2 separate regions of the Homo sapiens genome follow, and region 2 is linked to region 1. The links are contacts of gene promoters, found by promoter capture Hi-C in human tissues and cell types (Jung and others, 2019). All regions are on one chromosome and are shown on one strand. Each heading gives the region's core, a stretch centred on a gene start or on the middle of the fragment in contact. The rest is flanking DNA. Distances are from core to core; before and after follow the strand shown.

Region 1 (5,415 bases), core at 1,246-3,745:
GAATATGAAGTGGCAAAGTGGGGAAACACACAAGGCTAAGCTTACTAAGCTTACTAATGATTTGCAGGGGAATCTGTGACTCCCCACTAACATGGAAAGTAAAAATGTACATTTTTGTGGAAAGAGTCATTTGACAAATATTTTAGCATTTGCTAGTACGAGGCACCATTCTAGGAACTGGGAATAATACATCAGTAAACCAAACTGTCAAAGTGTCCTGACCTCCTTGAGTTTTTATTTTACACAGAGATGTGGATCACAGGTTTATTTGACAAAAAGGTCTGGGACCCAAACAATGCTTTGGAATCAAGATACTAAACCTATGGTGCTCAGCGTTGTGTACCAACAACACATAAGGGGAACCTTAAAAGTTCAAATGACTTAGCCCTTCCTTGACATTCTGATTGGCTGGATCTGTGCTCGGGTTTGATAATTTATGTTTTGAAGTGCTGTTCATATTGACCTAGATTGCTTCTGAAAAAAAGCTGGAGACAAAGTTCCTCTCACCAAGCAAAGCCATGGAAAATTGGTCACCTCCTTTTTTCAGAAACACAACAATGCAATGGGATTTTCAGTTCTGGATATCCCAAGAGAGAAGCATCAACATCCCTCCTTACTTTTATTAGCTTAGAATAGCACCCTACAATGCTTTAAAAGGATGTTTAAACGTATGCCTAAACCAGGTATGGTGGCTCACATCTATAACCCCAGCACTTTGGGAAGCTGAGTCAGGAGGTTGGCTTGAGCCCAGGAGTTTGAGACCAGCCTGGGCAATCAACATAGGGAGACCCCCCCATGTCTACAAAAAATCAAAAAAATAAAACTAGCTGGGCATGGTGGCATGTGCCTATAATTCCAGATACTCAGGAGGCTGAGGTGGTAGGATTGCTTGAGTCCAGAAGTTCGAGGTTACAATCAGCTAGTCGAGCTACTGCACTCCAGCTTGGGGACAAAGCAAGACCACGTTTCTAAAAACACCACCACCACCATCAAAAAACAAACACACAAAGTATGCCCATATTTTCTAAGTTCTAGAAAGGAGAGGATAAATTATCATACTTACTAACTTGAATCCCCAAATGATTTCCCAATTTTCTTCCCAAATAGTAATACTACTATTAAGAATATAATGAGTTTTTATTATTTGCCACTTTATAAGTGTTTTCCCACGTAATACTTCCAAGAACCCTGTGAGGTCTTGTTCTACTTATTTGATCAGCGAGAAACGGAGGCGCGGAGGTCACCAAGCTTGCTCAAGGTCACACAAGGGTGGACCCCTGAGCCTACCTCTCAACCTCGACTGCTGTGTCCATCCTTTCTTCATCGTTTCAACGTACCCCCCTCATTTCTTGGAATCTCTCCTGTGACCAAAGATGAACAAAATTATACATCACTAAAGAGGAAAACAAACTGCTGGGGAGACTACTCAGCAGCCTGATTTGAGGAGTATTTGGGAAGGGCAGCCTTCCTGTGGTATGGGAGTCTTTCTGTCCGCCACCTCGCCGGGACAGAAGTCACTCCATCCGCACCCCCGGGCGACCTCCGGAGGCCGCAGCTACCCCCGGGCTGCGAATTCCGAGTTCTCTCACGCCCCCGCGGGCGCCAGGACGCAGGGCATGTCCGCGCCCGGCGGGGATCCTTATCTCCTGGCCCCGGAGTAGGTCCGCAGGCTTCTCGGCCCTGCCAGGAACTTGAGGCCGGGGCAGATGATTGACTGGGTCCAGCAGTCTCTGCTGGCAGGGCAGTTGAAAAGCTAGAGGGATCTCTTTTTTGGTTGAATACCTGAACCCACACTAGCACCATGGCTTCTCTCTCTTGCCTGTAGTTTCCCGTGTCCTAAAAAGTTGGTCCCAAAGTTTAAGGATGCGGGTGTGTGTAAGAGCGCGTGTGACCCGCACAGGGATCCCAGTTGGGGAACCGGAGGATCCCACCGTCCCCCTCCCCCGGGTCGCAGAGACCCTGGCAGACCCCGCGCCAGGACCCGAACCCGCAAGCGCAGGGCAGGCAGGGAGGCGGCGAGCGCCCCGGGGCGGGTCTCGGGGGTTTCAGTGGGACCTGCGGCAAGGGGGGCGGCGAACCAGCCGGGCTGGGTGACCGACAGCCTGGCCAGCCACTGGCCGAGGGCGGTTAGGAGGCTTAGGGCCGGCGCGAGTGCGTGCGCGTGTGCGTGAGTGTGAGCGCCAGGGTGAGTGTGGCAGCCTCCCCAACCCCCACCTGTTTGAAATGGTTTTCAAATGCCAAAGCCAGATTGCCCGGGTTTCAAAAGTTGCAAACAGTTGGAGTAAAACACGTGTGCGGCCCTCCAGCCCCAAAGGAATCCGCGGAGTCCAGGGCACTGAAAGAAAAGGAGAGAGGATAGGGGTTCAGGAAGGGTTGGGGGGGAGTTGCCTTCTCCCGGCAGGTCGGTTTTAGGACCCATCGGGAAGCACGTTGGAATCTCTCCCTTCGGGGAGGAGGGGAGGGGTGGGCCGGCCGGCTGGCGGCCGCGGGGCGCATGCGCGCGCGTCTCCTGTCGCCGGCCGCTGCGCTCCGCGGCGCGGAATAGAATGAACTGTAACAAAACAAGCCGAGCCTTTGTATCTGCTTAAAGGGGCCGCGAGCACTTACCTCCCGCCCTGCTCCCCGCCGCCCCGCCACCGCGTCTTCAGGGCTCCCGGCAACTGGCTGGAAGGGCTTCCCTCACCCTCAGTAACAGCCTGCCAGCGAGGAGAGGCGAGCCGGGCGGGAGGCAAAGAGGAGGCACCGCATTTGTAAAAGGCAAGAGAGAAAGGAAGGAAGGAAAAAAAAATAACCCGAGCGGCGCAGAGTGGACTCTGGTCCGGGAGAGCACGGGCGGGCGCCGGAACGTGGACCCAGAGGCACCGGAATGCAAACAAAGCTCGCGGGCGCCTGTGCGGGGCTCGCGGGGAAGCCCAGAAAGTTTGTTTTATGATGGCTTGAGTGCGCGAGCGTGTGCAGGGGAGCGAGGCTGCCAAGTTTCTCTCTCCTGTTTTGTGATTTGGGGAGAGATGTTTCTCCCATGAACAAGCGGAGGCTTGGGGGCTCGTGCTGTGGGGGGCACCTGTCTCTCGTTTTATTTTTTTGGAGGAGGGGTGTAACTCATCATGTCCAAAGTGATCCAGAAGAAGAACCACTGGACTAGCAGGGTTCACGAATGCACCGTGAAGCGGGGACCCCAGGGCGAGCTGGGGGTGACGGTGCTGGGAGGCGCGGAGCACGGGGAGTTTCCGTACGTCGGAGCGGTGGCGGCGGTCGAGGCAGCGGGGCTTCCCGGCGGCGGCGAGGGCCCGAGGCTGGGCGAAGGGGAGCTGCTTCTGGAGGTGCAGGGGGTCCGGGTGTCCGGCTTGCCCCGCTATGACGTGCTGGGGGTCATCGACAGCTGCAAGGAGGCCGTCACCTTCAAGGCCGTCAGACAAGGTAAGGCAGGGCGCGCCTTTGGGGGGCGCCCCGAGAAAAGGAGGGTGGTCTGTGGGCTGCCCCTTATTCTCGATTTCCTGCTTCCCTCCTCGGAGCGCAGTGAAGAGAAGTTGAGGCCGTGCGCCCTGTGGTGGCGGTGAAATACACAAAGTTGTTGCGAGGTTGAGGGTTGTTTGCCCACCTGCGTTTCGAAGAGGGGGCTGGGTTTGCGCAAGGTAGCGGGGGGACGTTTCTCAGGCCTGGCTGGCCAACCTGTTATCTCCGCCACTAAGTGCAGCGCAGTCTCGCCTGCACCCGAGAGAGAGTTGGGGAACTGAGTCAGGGGCATGGTGGACGCTGTCCTGGCTCCTTGGGGGAGGGATGCAGCTGGCGTTCTTTGGCCACGAGTCAGTTTCCATACCTGCTGAGTGGGTATACAGAAAGAGAGGGTCTGTAGTTTATTGGACCTCCCCCATCAGAAAATCTGCTTCACCCCGCGACCCCTCCAGGTGAGCTAGGACACCACTGCCTGGCGGTTCCTGAGCCCGCCGCCAGAAGAGCCTGCATTCACCCCTCAGCCGGATGACGCATGTGTCTCCACCGTGTGGCTCAGCCATACACTTGGGAGGGGGAGAGGGGGAAGGGGTGCTTGCTTTTAGCTCGAATCGGGTCCAAGTTTACCCTCCCACCACCACCATCATCGTCATTATTGATGATGAAAATGAAGCTACTATTCATTGTTGGTTTACTACATGCCCGGCTCTGTGTAAAATACTTTACTTGCACTATCTCACTCCGATTCACAACAGTTCTAAGAACGAGTTGTTCTTATTTATATACCCCAAATTAGAGATAAGGAAACTGGGATTGATACTGGTTAAGTGACTTGCTCAAGGTCACACAGTTGCCAAAAGCGAGGGTTTGAGCCCTTGCTGCAGAGCCTTAAGTATGGAGGAGGAAGGAGTGGGGGGATGACCCTACCGCACTGAAGGGGCTGATTCCTGAGGAGGGAGTGGAAGCAAATTCCTCTCTCAGAAATCTGTAGAGGCCTTTTAAAAGATGCATTTGCTGGCTGCTGGTGATGTAGGTCCCTTACATCTCACTTTGGTACAGACAAGGGGCTGTCCTCATGTCAACCCAATGGAGACCAGCTGAGGCCCTTAAAGGGCTCCCTTGTGCAAGCAAGTGCCATGACGCAGGTTCTCCCCAGTGAAAGCACCGAAGGAAGTCGTGAAGTTGAACATGGTGAAAAGTTCCCATGTGTTTCCATAAGGACAGGCAGCAGCTGGAGGAATGTGTCAAAGGAAGGGCTGGGCCTAGCTGGTCCTCTCTTGGAAACAGGCGTGCTCCAGATGAAATGGAGGAGGGGGCGGCCGACTCGCCTGGCCTTTTAGCAGCTTTGGGAGCTGAGGAGCTGACACTTAGCTATGGAAAGCTCCTTGTATTTATGACTTCATTCTCCACTGGGATACCTCCTCCAAGAAGCCCTCCAGAATCCTGCTAGGATGCACAAATTCTTCCTCCTTTGGGCTCCTTTAATGTCTACTTTGTGGCTTTTTTACTTACTCTGAACTCTGAGTTAGGTCCTCATTTCCATACAAGGTAGTGAGCTCATTAAAGGGAGAGATTGTGCCTCATTCCTGGCATACCTCTCCAGGTTTTGCTTGAGGTTCAAAACCTTTCCTGGCCTGACAATGCGTCTTCCTCACACTGGCTTTCCTGTGGGTATTACATAAGCTAACACGTGGAAAGTGCACCCAACAGTGCCTGTACATAGTAAGTGCTCCATAAAGATTAGCTATTTATGTTTGAATTGATTTTAGCAGCTATTTATTTCTGAAACTAGTTTTTAGTGTCAGGAACCTGGATAATTATGACTTGATAGGGCTGTAGAGAAAATACTGTGTGAAGGCATAGGATGGGAGCAGCTGCAGGTCTCAGTTCAGGACCATTTTGGAGAAAGGGTGGAGGAAGGACAGGCAAGGGTACCTGCCCAACTAGGGGGATGCCTCGCAGTGT
Region 2 (4,901 bases), core at 18-2,517, 77 kb after region 1:
TCCCCACTGTGTTGGCCAGGCTGTTTTCGAACTCCTAAGCTCAGGCAATCCATCTGCCTTGGCCTCCCAAAGTGCTAGGGTTACAGACGTGAGCCACTGCGCCTGGCCAGATTGTCATTATTTTAACAGCAGAACTCTCTGAACAAATTACTTCATTGTTTTATATGCAGTGTTTAAAAAAAAAAACTCATCTTGTTTTAACTTTTTTTTTTTTTTTGCTGACACTTGAGGTAAAACCTAATTTCTCTGCTCATTTTTTTGTGACTTTCTTTTTCTTTTCTCCTCTTCTTCTTCTTTTTCTTCTGCTTCTTTTTTTTTTTTTTTTTCCCCCCGAGACAGAGTCTCGCTCTGTTGCCCAGGCTGGAATACAGTGGCATGATCTCTGCTCACTGCAACCTCTGCCTCCCATGTTCAAGTGTTTCTTGTGTCTCAACCTCCTGAGTAGCTGGGATTACAGATGTGGGCCACCACGCCCAGCGTTTTTAGTAGATATTGGGTTTCACCATGTTGGCCAGGCTGGTCTTGAACTCCTGACCTCAAGCAGTCTTCCCACCTCAGCCTCCCGAAGTGCTGTAATTACAGACGTGAACCACCTCGCCTGGCCAGTGTCATGACTTTCTAATGGACGTTTTGATGTAACAAAGCTGATCTTCCTAAATAAGCAAGTTGGAAAGTACATTTGTTGTGTGTGTAGTTCCTGGAGGAACTTTAGTACACTTGAAAAATACAATTCAGAGGCCGGGCGCGGTGGCTCACGCCTGTAATCCTAGCACTTTGGGAGGCCGAGGCGGGTGGATCACGAGATCAGGAGATCAAGACCATCCTGGCTAACATGGTGAAACCCCGTCTCTACTAAAAATACAAAAAAAAATTAGCCGGGCATGGTGGCGGGTGCCTGTAGTCCCAGCTACTCAGGAGGCTGAGTAGGAGAATGGCGTGAACCACTGCAGAGCTTGCAGTGAACGGAGATCGCACCACTGCACTCCAGCCTGGGCGACAGAGAGAGACTCCGTCAAAAAAAAAAAAAAAAAAAATACAATCAGATTAATGTCCATGAGAACAAACAGTCCAAATATGCTTTCTTCTTATCTTGAAACTACTGATATGACGGATAGGAGGAGACAAACAACCTCTTCATGAAGACTATGCCCAGTCACTTCATGGAAGCTGTCCCAATTTGGAAATAGCTTTTTCCAAAGCACTTAGCTGATTTGCTCAGGTGGCTCCCAGACTCTTAGCTCTAACCAAGCAATTTGCTGTAAACTTCTTTCTTCTCAGCACAATGGAACATTCATGATGTTTATCTGGCAGAAACTTTATTAAGGGAAGCCTGACAGGAAGGTTGGGGGAAGAGGAATGGAGTCTGTCTTTATTGGAAAGTTTGTTTCTTGAAACGTGTAAAATGACACGAATGGATGTGGTTCTTTGATATCAGTTCACCTCCTGACTGCGCTGAATACAAGGAACCCTGTTTTCTGCGGAATGCCTTAGTAAGGCACTATCTAGGCACTCACTAGACCTTTAAAAACAAGTCATTAGTTTCTCCAAGAGGGCTTCATTTTAATATTATTTTCTAAGATACCCTGCATAGCATATTTAAGGGTCTTTCTATGTTGAATGCACAAATGATTTTTCAGTGGATTTTTGGGGGGTTTTTACATGTTTTCCTTAATTTACATGAGGACTCTTTATTATACTGATCATCTATTTAGTTAACAGTGTACAGTTCAGTTATGCATTTTGCAGTGTTGCATAAGGAACTGGAGTTGAAAATAACAGTTGTAGTTACCACCCAGGAAGGGAGGGGCTGAATAACTGAATGAATTTAAAGAGGTGAGGGGAAATGCATTATGGGTAGATAGTACCAAGCTCAAGGTGACTTCTGTAGATTTGTGTTGACTAATTCTTCGACTGGACAGAGACCAGTTCGTTTCCTAGCTGTCTGTCCTACCTTTAATGCATTGCAGTAAGTGGTAATAGCCTGTTGCAGGGGTACACCAAATGGACACAGGAATGCCCCCTTCTGCCTTCCCCTCTTATCCCTAGATGAATGGTGTCATGGAAATTCAAAGGTTATTCCGGGATTTCATGTTAGTTGAAAGCAAGTTTTCTTATTTCTCATTTGGCATATCAATTTTTGCAGGCCTGCCATTTCAGGCTGGCCCATGCTCTGTACTGCCTATAGCATAGAAAAGACAGATGAACTTATAGCTTAGAGCCAAGGTACAGAAAGTAAATAAGAGTGATGTCTTCTTAATAGACAAGGAAGGAATCTATTTAACTGGGGTATTTCAACTCTTTTCTCAGAATTTTCTTTGTGGCCATATAGGAGCAAGGATGGTGAAGTTATATGGAAACAAAGGTGGGGAAATTACAGACAGAAATGGAAGAGTTGAAAGGAAGGAAGGATAACAAGAGCCCACCTCCCTGCAGTCTGCTCAAGGGAAATCTTGTACAATTTGTGTGGACAATGAAATTTATAATTTTGGCTTCAAGCTTGGGTGACTTTCTCCTCTCTGATTATAGGAAAAAATATTATAATTAAATTAGGATTACGCACTTTTTCCCCTCTTCAGTGTCCTTACATAGGACAGACATCCTTCTTGTTTGGTGACCACAGGGACCAGTGACATCCTAGTTTTCTTGGAATTGTTTGTACTTATTGCTTTATTAGAAACCGCCCTATAGTCAGATGTCTTGCCCACCCTTCTTCAGTTCTTTTCCCCCAAGATGTCAAAACCCTGGTGAGGAATCTGTGAAATGTGAACTATGATTTGGTTGTATGAGGTTCAGTGAAACAGCTGGAGGTTTTCCCAGCAGAAGGCTAACGCAGAATTGTCTAGACATCACTTTTTTCTTATCTAGTCAAGCTTTTCTGGGAGCTTTTCCACATGAGGAATCTAGGCTCAAAGGAAAATCAGTTTGACTGGCTAAAAGCTCATCTGGCAAGTTTAAATCACTCCGGAAACATACAGAGCTGCAGTCATTGGTTTGACAAGAACAGAAAGATACTTGTCTCTGTTGTTGCTAGTATTAAAAGAGAATTTATTGGCCGGGCGCGGTGGCTCACACCTGTAATCTCAACTCTTTGGGAGGCTGAGGCAGGCGGATCATGAGGTCAGGAGGTCGAGACCATCCTGGCTAACACGGTAAAACCCTGTCTCTACTAAAAAATACAAAAAAATTAGCTGGGCGTGATGGCGGGCTCCTGTAATCACAGCTACTCTGGAGGCTGAGGCAGGAGAATGGTGTGAACCCGGGAGGTGGAGCTTGCAGTGAGCCGAGTTTGCGCCACTGCACTCCAGCCTGGGCGACAGAGTGAGACTCTGTCTCAAAAAAAAAAAAAAAAAAAAAAAAAGAGAGAATTTATTTATTTGTCCATTAAGACATTAGGATGGGCGTGGTGCCTTACACCTGTAATCCCAGCACTTTGGGAGGCTGAGATGGGAGGATCACTTGAGTCCAGGAGTTTGAGACCAGCCTGGGAAACATAGGGAGACCTTGTCTCAATAATAATAATAATAATAATAATAATAATAATAATAATAATAATAAAAATGCTGGGATGGTGGCCCATGTCTGTAGTCCCAGCTACTTAGTAGGCTAAGGTGGGAGGATCTTGAACCCAGGAAGTAGAGGCTACACTGAGCTATGATCACACCACTGCACTCCAGACCCTGTCTCAAAAAAGGAAAAACCAAAATAACAAAAAGAGCATCACTCACTTACTGTGCACAGACATAGTGCCTTGCCCTGGGGAATCAGTGATGGGTAGAATAGTGATGTTCTTTGTACTGAATTAAATCATTGTATAGCTAAGAGGATAAAGACAACTTGAGTAAAGGGCAAGTAGGAAAGGAATAATGTCTTAAGGGAGTAGAAGACAAAGGATGCAGTAGAGAGGAAGGAGAAATCAGAGAACGTTTGAATGCAGTAAGCTTGAGGTGAGCCTGAGATATTTTTGGAATTTAACCAAAGGAAGGGGCTGTCAAACAAAGCTAGTTCAGAGTCCCAGGATTTGTATCTTTTGGAGTGACTGTGCCCTCAGAAACTTCCAGAGACTTTTAGAACTCATTCAGGCTTTGGCTTTGGCAGTTGTAAGAAGCACCACAATTCTTTCTACTCTGGACAAGGGGCAAAATGTGGTTTTTTTTGTTGTTTTTTTTTTTTGAGTTACAGTCTCACTCAGTTGGCCAAGCTGGAGTGCAGTGGCACGATCTCAGCTCACTGTATCCTCTGCCTTCGGGGTTCAAACGATTCTCGTGCCTCAACCTCCCCAGGAGCTGGGATTACAGGCACACGCCACTGTGCCCAGCTAATTTTTGTATTTTTAATATAGACAGGGTTTCACCATGTTGGCTAGGCTGGTCTCGAACTCTTGGCCTCAAGTGATCCTCCTGCTTTGACCTCCCAAAGTGCTGGGATTATAGGCCTGAGCTCCCCCGCCTGGCTAAATGTGTATTTTTGCTCACAAGCACCATGGGCATCAGCTTTAAACCTCCGATATATGGGCCATATTACCCGGAACTCTGTTGTCTTCTGTACGACTTTTGGAAGTTAAGTCTACCCATGCAGATAAGGATATTTAATTCCACACTAACCTCAGCTTCTCTTAGGAACCACTGCAGAGAATGCCCAGTTTTTACCCAGTCTAAGGCTATTTTCGGTCAAGGCATGAAATGACTTTGTCATTGCAGTAAACCCTAGTCACTGTGCAGGTAAGCCTCTTCTTGAGATGGATTGCATGCATACCTTTTTGATGATACAATAAGCAGGTCTTTATTGGATGTGAACAGAGTTTAAAATGTTGCTGAGTTGAACATTGGAGGGTGAAGGGATTTCTCCATAGAGTTGTTCCTGCATGTTAAGAATATTGAGCTAAATTTAGAATGTCTTACACT

What was found. The method cuts DNA at HindIII sites, captures the fragments that hold promoters and counts their contacts. A contact is called where the count stands out against the background at its distance.
Region 2: a fragment that was not itself captured here is called in contact with the fragment with the promoter of MAGI1 in region 1 in 3 of the 25 tissues and cell types used here (aorta, pancreas and spleen).

The regions. Positions count from the first base shown.
Region 1 is chr3:66,035,998-66,041,412 of GRCh38, reverse strand. MAGI1 (membrane associated guanylate kinase, WW and PDZ domain containing 1) reads left to right here and starts at 2,495. Exons shown (of 23, transcript NM_001033057.2): 1 at 2,495-3,417. The coding sequence starts at 3,105. It overlaps LOC105377128 (a long non-coding RNA gene), which reads right to left and starts at 2,460. Exons shown (of 2, transcript XR_001740440.2): 1 at 2,215-2,460; 2 at 1,119-1,361. RefSeq lists a silencer at 2,408-2,527 and enhancers at 3,480-4,307, 4,308-5,135, 5,136-5,415. The HindIII fragment of the contact is 7,387 bases long and covers 650-5,415 here.
Region 2 is chr3:65,958,256-65,963,156 of GRCh38, reverse strand. The region is part of intron 1 of MAGI1 (membrane associated guanylate kinase, WW and PDZ domain containing 1); the gene reads left to right. Among named protein-coding and RNA genes, the nearest start is that of MAGI1-IT1, 6.1 kb to the right of the region's middle. The HindIII fragment of the contact is 4,275 bases long and covers 1-3,404 here.